Linked DNA regions of Homo sapiens: region 2 is linked to region 1. The links are contacts of gene promoters, found by promoter capture Hi-C in blood cells and fetal thymus (Javierre and others, 2016). All regions are on one chromosome and are shown on one strand. Each heading gives the region's core, a stretch centred on a gene start or on the middle of the fragment in contact. The rest is flanking DNA. Distances are from core to core; before and after follow the strand shown. Region 1 holds the start of FOXD2 (forkhead box D2). Region 2 holds the start of DMRTA2 (DMRT like family A2).

Evidence for each region. The method cuts DNA at HindIII sites, captures the fragments that hold promoters and counts their contacts. A CHiCAGO score of 5 or more calls a contact.
Region 2: a fragment that was not itself captured here is called in contact with the fragment with the promoter of FOXD2 in region 1 in 2 of 17 cell types (total B cells and naive B cells); the score reaches 12.0 in total B cells.

Annotation. Positions count from the first base shown.
Region 1 is chr1:47,436,483-47,440,852 of GRCh38, forward strand. It overlaps FOXD2 (forkhead box D2), which reads left to right and starts at 1,562. Exons shown (of 1, transcript NM_004474.4): 1 at 1,562-4,209. The coding sequence starts at 1,654. The coding sequence ends at 3,141. LINC01389 (long intergenic non-protein coding RNA 1389) reads right to left here and starts at 835. Exons shown (of 5, transcript NR_126355.1): 1 at 808-835. RefSeq lists silencers at 42-201, 682-1,581, 1,612-1,791 and an enhancer at 2,980-3,749. The HindIII fragment of the contact is 12,776 bases long and covers 1-4,370 here.
Region 2 is chr1:50,420,756-50,424,950 of GRCh38, forward strand. It overlaps DMRTA2 (DMRT like family A2), which reads right to left and starts at 2,688. Exons shown (of 3, transcript NM_032110.3): 1 at 2,361-2,688; 2 at 223-789. The coding sequence starts at 781. LOC105378714 (a long non-coding RNA gene) reads left to right here and starts at 2,791. Exons shown (of 3, transcript XR_947325.3): 1 at 2,791-3,142; 2 at 3,683-3,846; 3 at 4,085-4,117. RefSeq lists an enhancer at 484-983 and a silencer at 3,811-3,870. The HindIII fragment of the contact is 245 bases long and covers 1,142-1,386 here.

The DNA.
Region 1 (4,370 bases), core at 312-2,811:
ACTTAAGGTCGCTGCTCTTAACTACTATGCAGACCAGGAAACTGAGGCTCCGAAGCGGGGAAGTCACCTAATGAGGGTCACACAGCCTTGCTACAGCGGAGGCAGCTGGGATTCCGGCCTCGCACGCCCGAGCTTTAGCCACTGTGCGGCGCTGTCGGGGCAGCAGCCCAGGCATCCGCTCAGTTCCTGCTCACGTCCAGCGCCCATCTCCCCTTCCGTGCCCCAGAGGCTGAAATGGGCCCAATCTGTGTTGAAGCTGCTTGTTTCTGGGTCCTGGAGGGAGGCCGGGGGAGAAAGAGGTCTAATAGGATGGGCAGGAACCCGGCTAGCGAGAAACAAGGCACAGGGCCAACCTTAGTTGCACAAGACTTTTGAGAGATGAAGGCAACACTTGGTGGAGGTCAGGGTTCACTGAGGGGGTGTCGGGCAGGGGGCGGAGGAGGTCCTGCCGCCTGTCGGTGGGGCCCAGAACCCTGGGAGCCAGGAAGGTGGGGGGTGTCCAGTCCTCAGGGCAACTGGGGCCAGGGAGAGGGGAGGGAGAAATTAAGCGGATTCCCAGACCCATGAACAGACATCCAGACAAATGCCGTTTCCACAGAGACTCACGGAGAGTGAGATAGTCACAGAGACTGAGACAAACGGATGCCGAGATCCAGAGGGTCGGAGAACAGGCAAACTCGGAGCAGTAGACCGGCCCGCGCCCCGGGAACGCGGCCACAGCGGCCGGCGCTCTGCCCGGCCTCTCCGCGCGGAGAGGGGTGGCGGGCCCGACAGCGGAGGGAGGAGAGGGCGCCGCCGCAATCTCACCTCTCCCAGGCCCAAGGCTGCGGGCGCCAAGTTCGCTCCTGGTGATCACTCGAATGCGTCTCCCCTCGGGCTGGAAGCCGTGCGGGCTCGGGTGGGCGCCGGCGGGCCGCGCTGGGGCGGCGTGGGTCCCGGCGTCTCAGCCTCGCGCTCCCACTGCGCTTCGGCCCGGTGGCCCGGGCGCCGCCTTGGGGAGAGGACGGGTGGGGACCGCCGCCACTTCCCTGGCTGCGGCTGGCGCCCGAGTGAGCCTTAACATCCAGGGGCTGAGCGTTCTGAAGGCGGCGGCTTCAGGGAGCACAGGGTGCAGGAGCGGCGGCGAAGACAAGGGCCCGCCTCCGGCCACTCGAGCCCAGCTCCCGCCGCGGCGGCGGTTTGTTCCCGCCGGGTCCCTCAGCGGAGGCGCTACGCCCGCCCCTGTCGCCTCGCCCCACCCCGCCCAGGGAGCTCCGCCCTAGCCCGCAGCTCTTCCGCCTTAGGCAGCCGCTAGGCGGGAGGGACAATCCCCCACCACCAACCACTGCCACCCCGAGGGGACTAGGGGCTGAGGCCCGCCCAGGTAAGGGAAAGCCTCAGCTCCTTCCGTTGCGCCCCAGCGGCGGGTCCCAGCTCGGATTCCCGGGGTAGTGGCGGGGGCCGCCGGCGGGTCGTGCCCTGGAAGGTGAGCGCGGCCGAGCTGGGCCGCCAGGGGGCGCTGCGGAGCCGGGGGACACCCCTCCCTGCCTGCCTCAGTCCCCCGCCCCCTCCCCGCCCGCGCGCAAAACGCACTCGCCCCAGAGGCAGCGCGGCCGAGCCCGAGCCGCTGCCGGAGCGGAGCCGGAGAGTGGCGGCGGCGGCGGCAGCGGCACCATGACCCTGGGCAGCTGCTGCTGCGAGATCATGTCCTCCGAGAGCTCCCCGGCCGCGCTGTCCGAGGCCGACGCAGACATAGACGTGGTGGGCGGCGGCAGCGGCGGGGGGGAGCTCCCAGCTCGCTCCGGGCCCCGCGCCCCCCGGGACGTGCTCCCCCACGGCCACGAGCCTCCCGCGGAGGAAGCCGAGGCAGACTTAGCCGAGGACGAGGAGGAGTCTGGTGGCTGCTCGGACGGCGAGCCCCGCGCTCTGGCGTCCCGGGGGGCGGCGGCCGCAGCGGGGAGCCCGGGGCCAGGCGCCGCGGCGGCCCGCGGCGCAGCGGGGCCCGGGCCGGGACCGCCGTCGGGGGGCGCGGCGACGCGGAGCCCGCTGGTGAAGCCGCCCTACTCGTACATCGCGCTCATCACCATGGCCATCCTGCAGAGCCCCAAGAAGCGGCTGACGTTGAGCGAGATCTGCGAGTTCATCAGCGGCCGCTTCCCCTACTACCGGGAGAAGTTCCCCGCCTGGCAGAACAGCATCCGCCACAACCTCTCTCTCAACGACTGCTTCGTCAAGATCCCCCGCGAGCCGGGCAACCCGGGCAAGGGCAACTACTGGACGCTGGACCCGGAGTCGGCCGACATGTTCGACAACGGCAGCTTCCTGCGGCGTCGCAAGCGCTTCAAGCGGCAGCCCCTGCCGCCGCCGCACCCACACCCGCACCCTCACCCGGAGCTGCTGCTGCGTGGCGGGGCCGCGGCGGCGGGGGATCCCGGCGCTTTCCTGCCCGGCTTCGCTGCCTACGGCGCCTACGGCTACGGCTACGGGCTGGCTCTCCCGGCCTACGGCGCACCCCCGCCGGGGCCGGCCCCGCATCCGCACCCGCACCCGCACGCCTTCGCTTTCGCCGCGGCAGCCGCCGCCGCTCCTTGCCAGCTGTCGGTACCCCCAGGCCGCGCCGCCGCGCCTCCACCCGGACCTCCGACGGCCTCGGTGTTCGCAGGCGCGGGATCGGCCCCAGCTCCTGCGCCTGCCTCAGGCTCGGGCCCGGGCCCGGGCCCCGCAGGCCTGCCCGCCTTCCTGGGCGCGGAGCTGGGCTGCGCCAAAGCCTTCTACGCGGCGTCCCTGAGTCCTCCCGCAGCCGGCACCGCGGCGGGTCTGCCCACCGCACTTCTGCGCCAGGGCCTCAAGACGGACGCGGGCGGTGGTGCAGGCGGCGGGGGCGCCGGGGCAGGGCAGAGGCCTTCCTTCTCTATAGACCACATCATGGGCCACGGTGGCGGCGGGGCAGCACCCCCGGGCGCCGGCGAGGGCTCTCCGGGACCGCCATTCGCGGCAGCCGCGGGTCCTGGGGGCCAAGCCCAGGTCTTGGCCATGCTGACTGCTCCGGCCCTGGCTCCCGTTGCTGGCCACATTCGCCTCTCGCATCCCGGGGACGCGCTGCTGTCCTCAGGGTCCCGGTTTGCCAGCAAAGTCGCCGGCCTTAGTGGCTGCCACTTCTGACCGCAGCAGGCCCAGGGCCGGTTAGGTCCGCACTCCTCAGCCTCTCCCGGGAGTTCCTGCGGTCCCAGCGGAACTCAGGGAGTCTATTTATGAAGTCTCCAGACCTTGGGCCGGCACGCGTGACACGGCACTTCAGGCTCCACGCACAGAATCTCGCAGATAGTTGGGACTAAGCGGGCTCTATCGCTCAGGGCGACAGGCCCGGGGCTACGCGAAGAAGTCGCAGGCCAAGATTCTTTACAGTTTGAGAAATAAAAGCAGGGGGGTGGGGGCTTCGTTTTTTTCCCTGCCTCTGCGCCTCTCGGGGAACACATTCCGGGAGAGATGCCTGGCCAGGCTCCACGGATCCCGCCAGAAACACCAACAGAGGGTCTCCCTTTCTGCCTTTCCCCTCTCACTTCTTCCCCAACGTTGAGACCCTGCTTGTCCAATATTATAATTTAAAGACATCTATTATCTGCTTTGTGCTTAAAAGAAAAATTCAACCTTTTTTTTTTTTTTTTTTTTTTTGCTGTTCTCCAAGGAAGTTCGTTTCCTCTGAAGCCTAAACCAGTGTCTACGCAGGCGGAGCTGAACGGAGAGGTGAAGCAGGGGGTCTTTATATTCCCTGCAGAAACCCTGGATCCCACTCCACTGAGGAAAATCCTTTCTCTTTTGTGTTTGGGTGCTTTTAAAGGAATTTCTTTCCTTTCCCTTGGCTGGCTGGGTCCAGCCATCTCCGGCCAGCAACCCTGTCAGTGTTCCACCCTGTCCCAGGCCCTGTGATATTTATTGTGGCTAAAGGCAATGAGATTGGGTGGAAGAGAAGGGTCTGGGCCAGGGACTGGAGAGGTGGGGGTGGAGTGGGCAAGGGCACACCCTGTGGCAGGGGGTCCTATAATTTTGTGTAAATATCTGTACAGCGCGCTGCTCTCGGCGTTCTCTGTCCACTGGGTGTGCATTGATTTAAACTTCTCCACTGTGGGGAAGCTCTGTGAAATCGTCTGATGGTCTGTGTGGAAGAAAAGAAAAATCTGTCTGCCGCCTATTTCCCATTGGTGTCGATTGAATAAATGTATGTGAACTTCAGCAGTCACCAGCTCTGTCTGCTTGCCTGCACTCCCTTGCCCCTGATGGGGCTCTCCCAGAAGAGCTTAGCTCCCCAACAGAGGGGGAGTGAGGAAAGGCCCCTGGGCAGCCCAAGCAGGCAGAGAGGGGTTTGAGCTTAGAGGATGCAAGGGGCACTTTGG
Region 2 (4,195 bases), core at 14-2,513, 3.0 Mb after region 1:
GATGCAGGAGAAAGGGGTAAAGTGCAAATGCTCCAGAAGCGGGAGAAAGGAGAGTTTCTGTACCCACGCTCCATACCCGAGGCTGGGCGAGCGGTGAACCCTAGCAGTCGCGGCGACTGGACACGGGGGTTCTACTCTTTCTGAACCGAGACAAGCCCCTGGGCCCCGTGCCCCAGAGCTACGATCCTGCTGCCCCTACCTGCGGCCTGGCCGCGCTCTCACCTGAGCCCCCTGCGCCAGCTGCTCCGCCTCCGGTCCCCGCGGGCGCTCCCGCTCCAGGTCCCCCGCCGTCGGCGGCGCACACTGAACCGAAGACCTCGTAGGCGGGCCTCGGGGGGATGATGCCGTTGGCGGCGGCCAGCGCCAGCCCCTCGGCAGTGCCGTAGAGCAGCTGCAGCTCGCGCGCCTCGTTCTCCTCCTGCGCCTGCTGCCTGCGCAGCGCCACCTGCGCCGCCATGACACGCTGGCGCTCCGCGATGAGCGTGCACTTGGCGCACAGGCAGTCCTTCCAGCGACAGTAGCGTTTGTGGCCCTTGAGGGCCGACACCACGCCATGGTTGCGACAGCGCGCGCACTTGGGGGTCCGCGGGTACTTCTCGGCTGCCCGCAGCAACAGTGGCGGCCCCCGCAGCAAGCCGCCTGCCACGCTCACCGGTAGCGATGCAGCGGCCGCCGCGGCTGCCGCCACCGACGCCACCGACGCCACAGGCGGCCCCGTCGCTGTTGCCGCCGCCGCCGTCGCCGCGCCGGGCACGCTGGGCAGCTCCGAGCGCAGCTCCATGACAGGACCTGACGGGAAAGAAGGTGGGAGAGGGGAGAGACCTGGTGAGGAGCACACCGCGCGCTAGGCCAAAGCGCCGCCTTGAGGAACCCAAGCTGGAGAGGGAAATTTGGGCCGCGGAGGCTGGGCTAGAGGGGCCAGAATTGCTGGGAGGAGGTGCAGTCGGAACCTCCTTGTGAGCCCTAGCACCTTCACCCCAGTCTGGCCATGGCTGCTCTTAGACCTGATATACACGCTAGGGGTAAGATTTTGTCTGAATTAGTGATTCCGCTGGAAAAAATAAAGAGACATGTAAAGTGTGAAAGTCACTGATTCAGATGGCTGTAATGAGAATTTGGAAAAGTTAAGATGATACCCCAAAGCTTAGCCTAATTGGGGTGAGACGGGTGAGAGAAATGCTCGTTTGACGGGACTGGGATTAGAGCGACAGTTTTGGCCCAGAAGTTAGGCTGATGCCAAGGGCAAAACAGGAAAACCCGGAGCAAAACGGTCAGTTTGGTGGAAGGGTGAAGAGGAGAGAGATGTGAAGGCGCAGATGTGAAGGCCGGTTGGGCCGGAGTTTTGTTTCTTTTTGTTTGTTTATTTTTAATGCAGTTTGGGGCAGAAGCTTTGGAGAGAAAAATCAACAACAGAAAGAATAGCTTTAGGAAGCAGAGTGAGGACGAGGAAACAACTTGGGCAAAGTTAGGCCCAGTGGCTCTGGGACCCGTAAAAATGTGAGCGCCAAAAGTTCCACGGTGAGGGCCTCCAGAGAGTGAGAGACAAAATGTATGTGGAATTTAGCTTAGGACTGGGAAGTATTAAAGAGAAAAATTCGGCCAAAGAAACTTTCTGTATAGGCAAACCCAGCCCAAAGATGAGCTTCATGGGCAAGGAAAACAGTGAAAAGCAGCTGATCTGGGTGTCCGGGATCCAGGGGCCGCGCCTGGGAGAGGGGAATGTGTAAGAAAAAACCCCACAGGCAAATGCTGGGGGAGGGGATTGGGTAAAACCTGTGGTGCAGTTTTTTAGCTTCGCAGTCTGGAGTAGTAGTCGGGGCGGAAGACGTATCCTGCGAAAAGTTAGGCATTTCGGGAGGGGGATCTTTCTCGAAGACCACCTCACACTGCCCTCCCCTCCCCTCCGGGTTTAGGGACAGAGTCGTCAGACACGCCCTCCCCGTCTTGGGGTCCCAGGGGACCCCTCTCGAGCGCAGGCTCCTGCGTTCTGATCTCAGAGTTGGGGTCCTAGGACACGGATGGCCCAGCAGGCCGCACCAAGCCAGGGGAGTCGCCTTCGCAACTGGCCATAAACGGACACCAGAGTCCCTCCCACGCCGCAGCCCCATAAGGCCCAAGCAGGCCCAGCTCCCCGCTTCTGCCGCGGTCTCCTCTGCTTCCCGCGTTCCCCGTCCCTGCCAGAGCCCGCGACAGAGTCCTTGTGTCTCCGTCCGAGAGTCCCAGACCTCCTCTCTATGAGCGTTGCCTCCTCTCCCAGACCCTTCGGGCGTCCCTAAGGCCCACGGGGCCCAGGCCTCCTCAACAGGGGCCGCAGACCAGGTCTCCACCCACTGCTCTCCCTGCGGCCCTCAACTACCTGCCTTGGGCTCCGGGATCCTCCTCCTCCGCTGGCGCTGCACGCGCCTCCCGGCTCCACTGGCGACGCTGGAGCTCTTGGCCGCTTCCCTTTGCCCCCGGCCCCTTATCTGACCACGTCACCCTCCTTCAGTCACCATGTCCGAACTTCCGGACCCCTCAGAACGCAGCGCAGTCCAACCCTCCCTTCAGAAATCCGGGTCGGAGGCTCGTCTGCGGGCCGCGTGGTTGGAACCCGCGACCTGACTCTCGCCGTGCCGGGTCCCCTCGCGGTGCGCGCCGGACGCTGCGCGCAGCCGGGGCCCAGTTGCCCGGCGCTGCCAGACTCTCAATGAGCCGCTCGCCCGCTCTATTGTTGGTCCTTAGGGCTCCATTAGACAGAATTGGACAACAATGTGGCGCCTGCCATTGGCCAGGGGAGGCAGACGGCGCTCTGATTGGCCGGGCCCGCGCCCGGGGAGCCCCGCATTCTGCAGTGTCCGAAAGATTCGAAACTCCAAAAGCTCCACTGCGTGCCTCTGGGAGGGGAGGGGGCGCGCCAGGAAAGGAGTGGAAAAAAGTGGGCGAGGAGGAGCGTTGAAAATTTCCTGACAAGTAGTTTCCGTGCGCCCGAGAGCGTGTGAATTGCTCCTAATTACCGTGTCCGGTGCGCCTCTCTGCGTAGACTTGTGTAACCTCTCGGCTTCTGGGGCGCCGGCTCGGCTGCACCGCTCTTACTGGCCTGGGGCGCTTGGCAAAGCCGAGCTTCCCAAGTGGCTCTGGAGCCCTGAGGCGGGATGGGGGGCAGGTGACAATTCAATTACTGCGGTCGGGGTAGGGGCGGGACAAGGGTGCGGGGGTGGGGAAGGGAGGGTGTTCAAGGCATAAATGCCAGGACGATTTTTCCTGCCTTCTTCCTGCTATGTTTCGGCGCGCTCCCAAATCCGACGAGTTTGGGGTAGTTGGGGGCTGCTTTGGTTTTTTCCTCCTGTCTCCTTAAAGCTCAGTTACTTTATTTTAAAAGTCCTGATACGATAGTCATCCTGGAGGGTAAGTGTGGTTTATGAAGATTTTCGTGTTTAAAGAGAAGCTCAGCGAAGAGAAATGAGATTGCACTTCCTGTCGGTGCCCGCCACGTCCCTCGCGCCCTGAGCCTTTCCTCTCCCCGCCCCTCTTTTCGCGTCCCTCAGCCCCTTTTGAGCTCTCTTTTCCTCACTTTTCAGCATCTCGATTTCTTTTCCGTGGTGGTGGGATTCTTTTTGTCGTTATTGCAAATGAACAAATAGCCCCCCCCCCTTTTTTTTTCTTTTCTAAACGAAAGTAAAAAGTGGCCTCTGTGTCTCCGCAGATTCTCTTAAACTCAGGACGCGCATCGGTCTGTCCGACCTTCCCGGCAAGAGACAAAGTCACTGCTGGGAGGCCCCCTCGGACAGTTTTCAGTTTTAACTTTCGCCTTATTCTCGTCTTGTCTTGATGTCACGGCCCTGAGGAACAGCTCGTTCTGCAGAAGAGGTAACAGGTTTCAGATTTTGTTTCCTTTTTGAAAGGCTGTTGCCTTTCAAACATCTGGAATTAATGCCGCGGCCCTCGGGCGAGTCGCCCTCGGTTTCTGTAGCTCTGATTTTATCTCTGTGTCTTTTCCCCTCTAATTTCTAAAGTTCTGTTTTTCCCTCTAATTCTGTTTTTCCCTCTAATTTCTAATGTTCTGTCACTCTCGTTTTTGTTCTCTACTTTTCTCTCTCTCCTTCAGAATAAAGAAAATTCGTTTAAATAATGAGGAAAATGAGCGTTCCTGTCGTTCTCCCTCCACTCTTGACCGTGCGTCTCTGCGTTGCTCTTTCGAACCTCCAGGCCGGCGGGA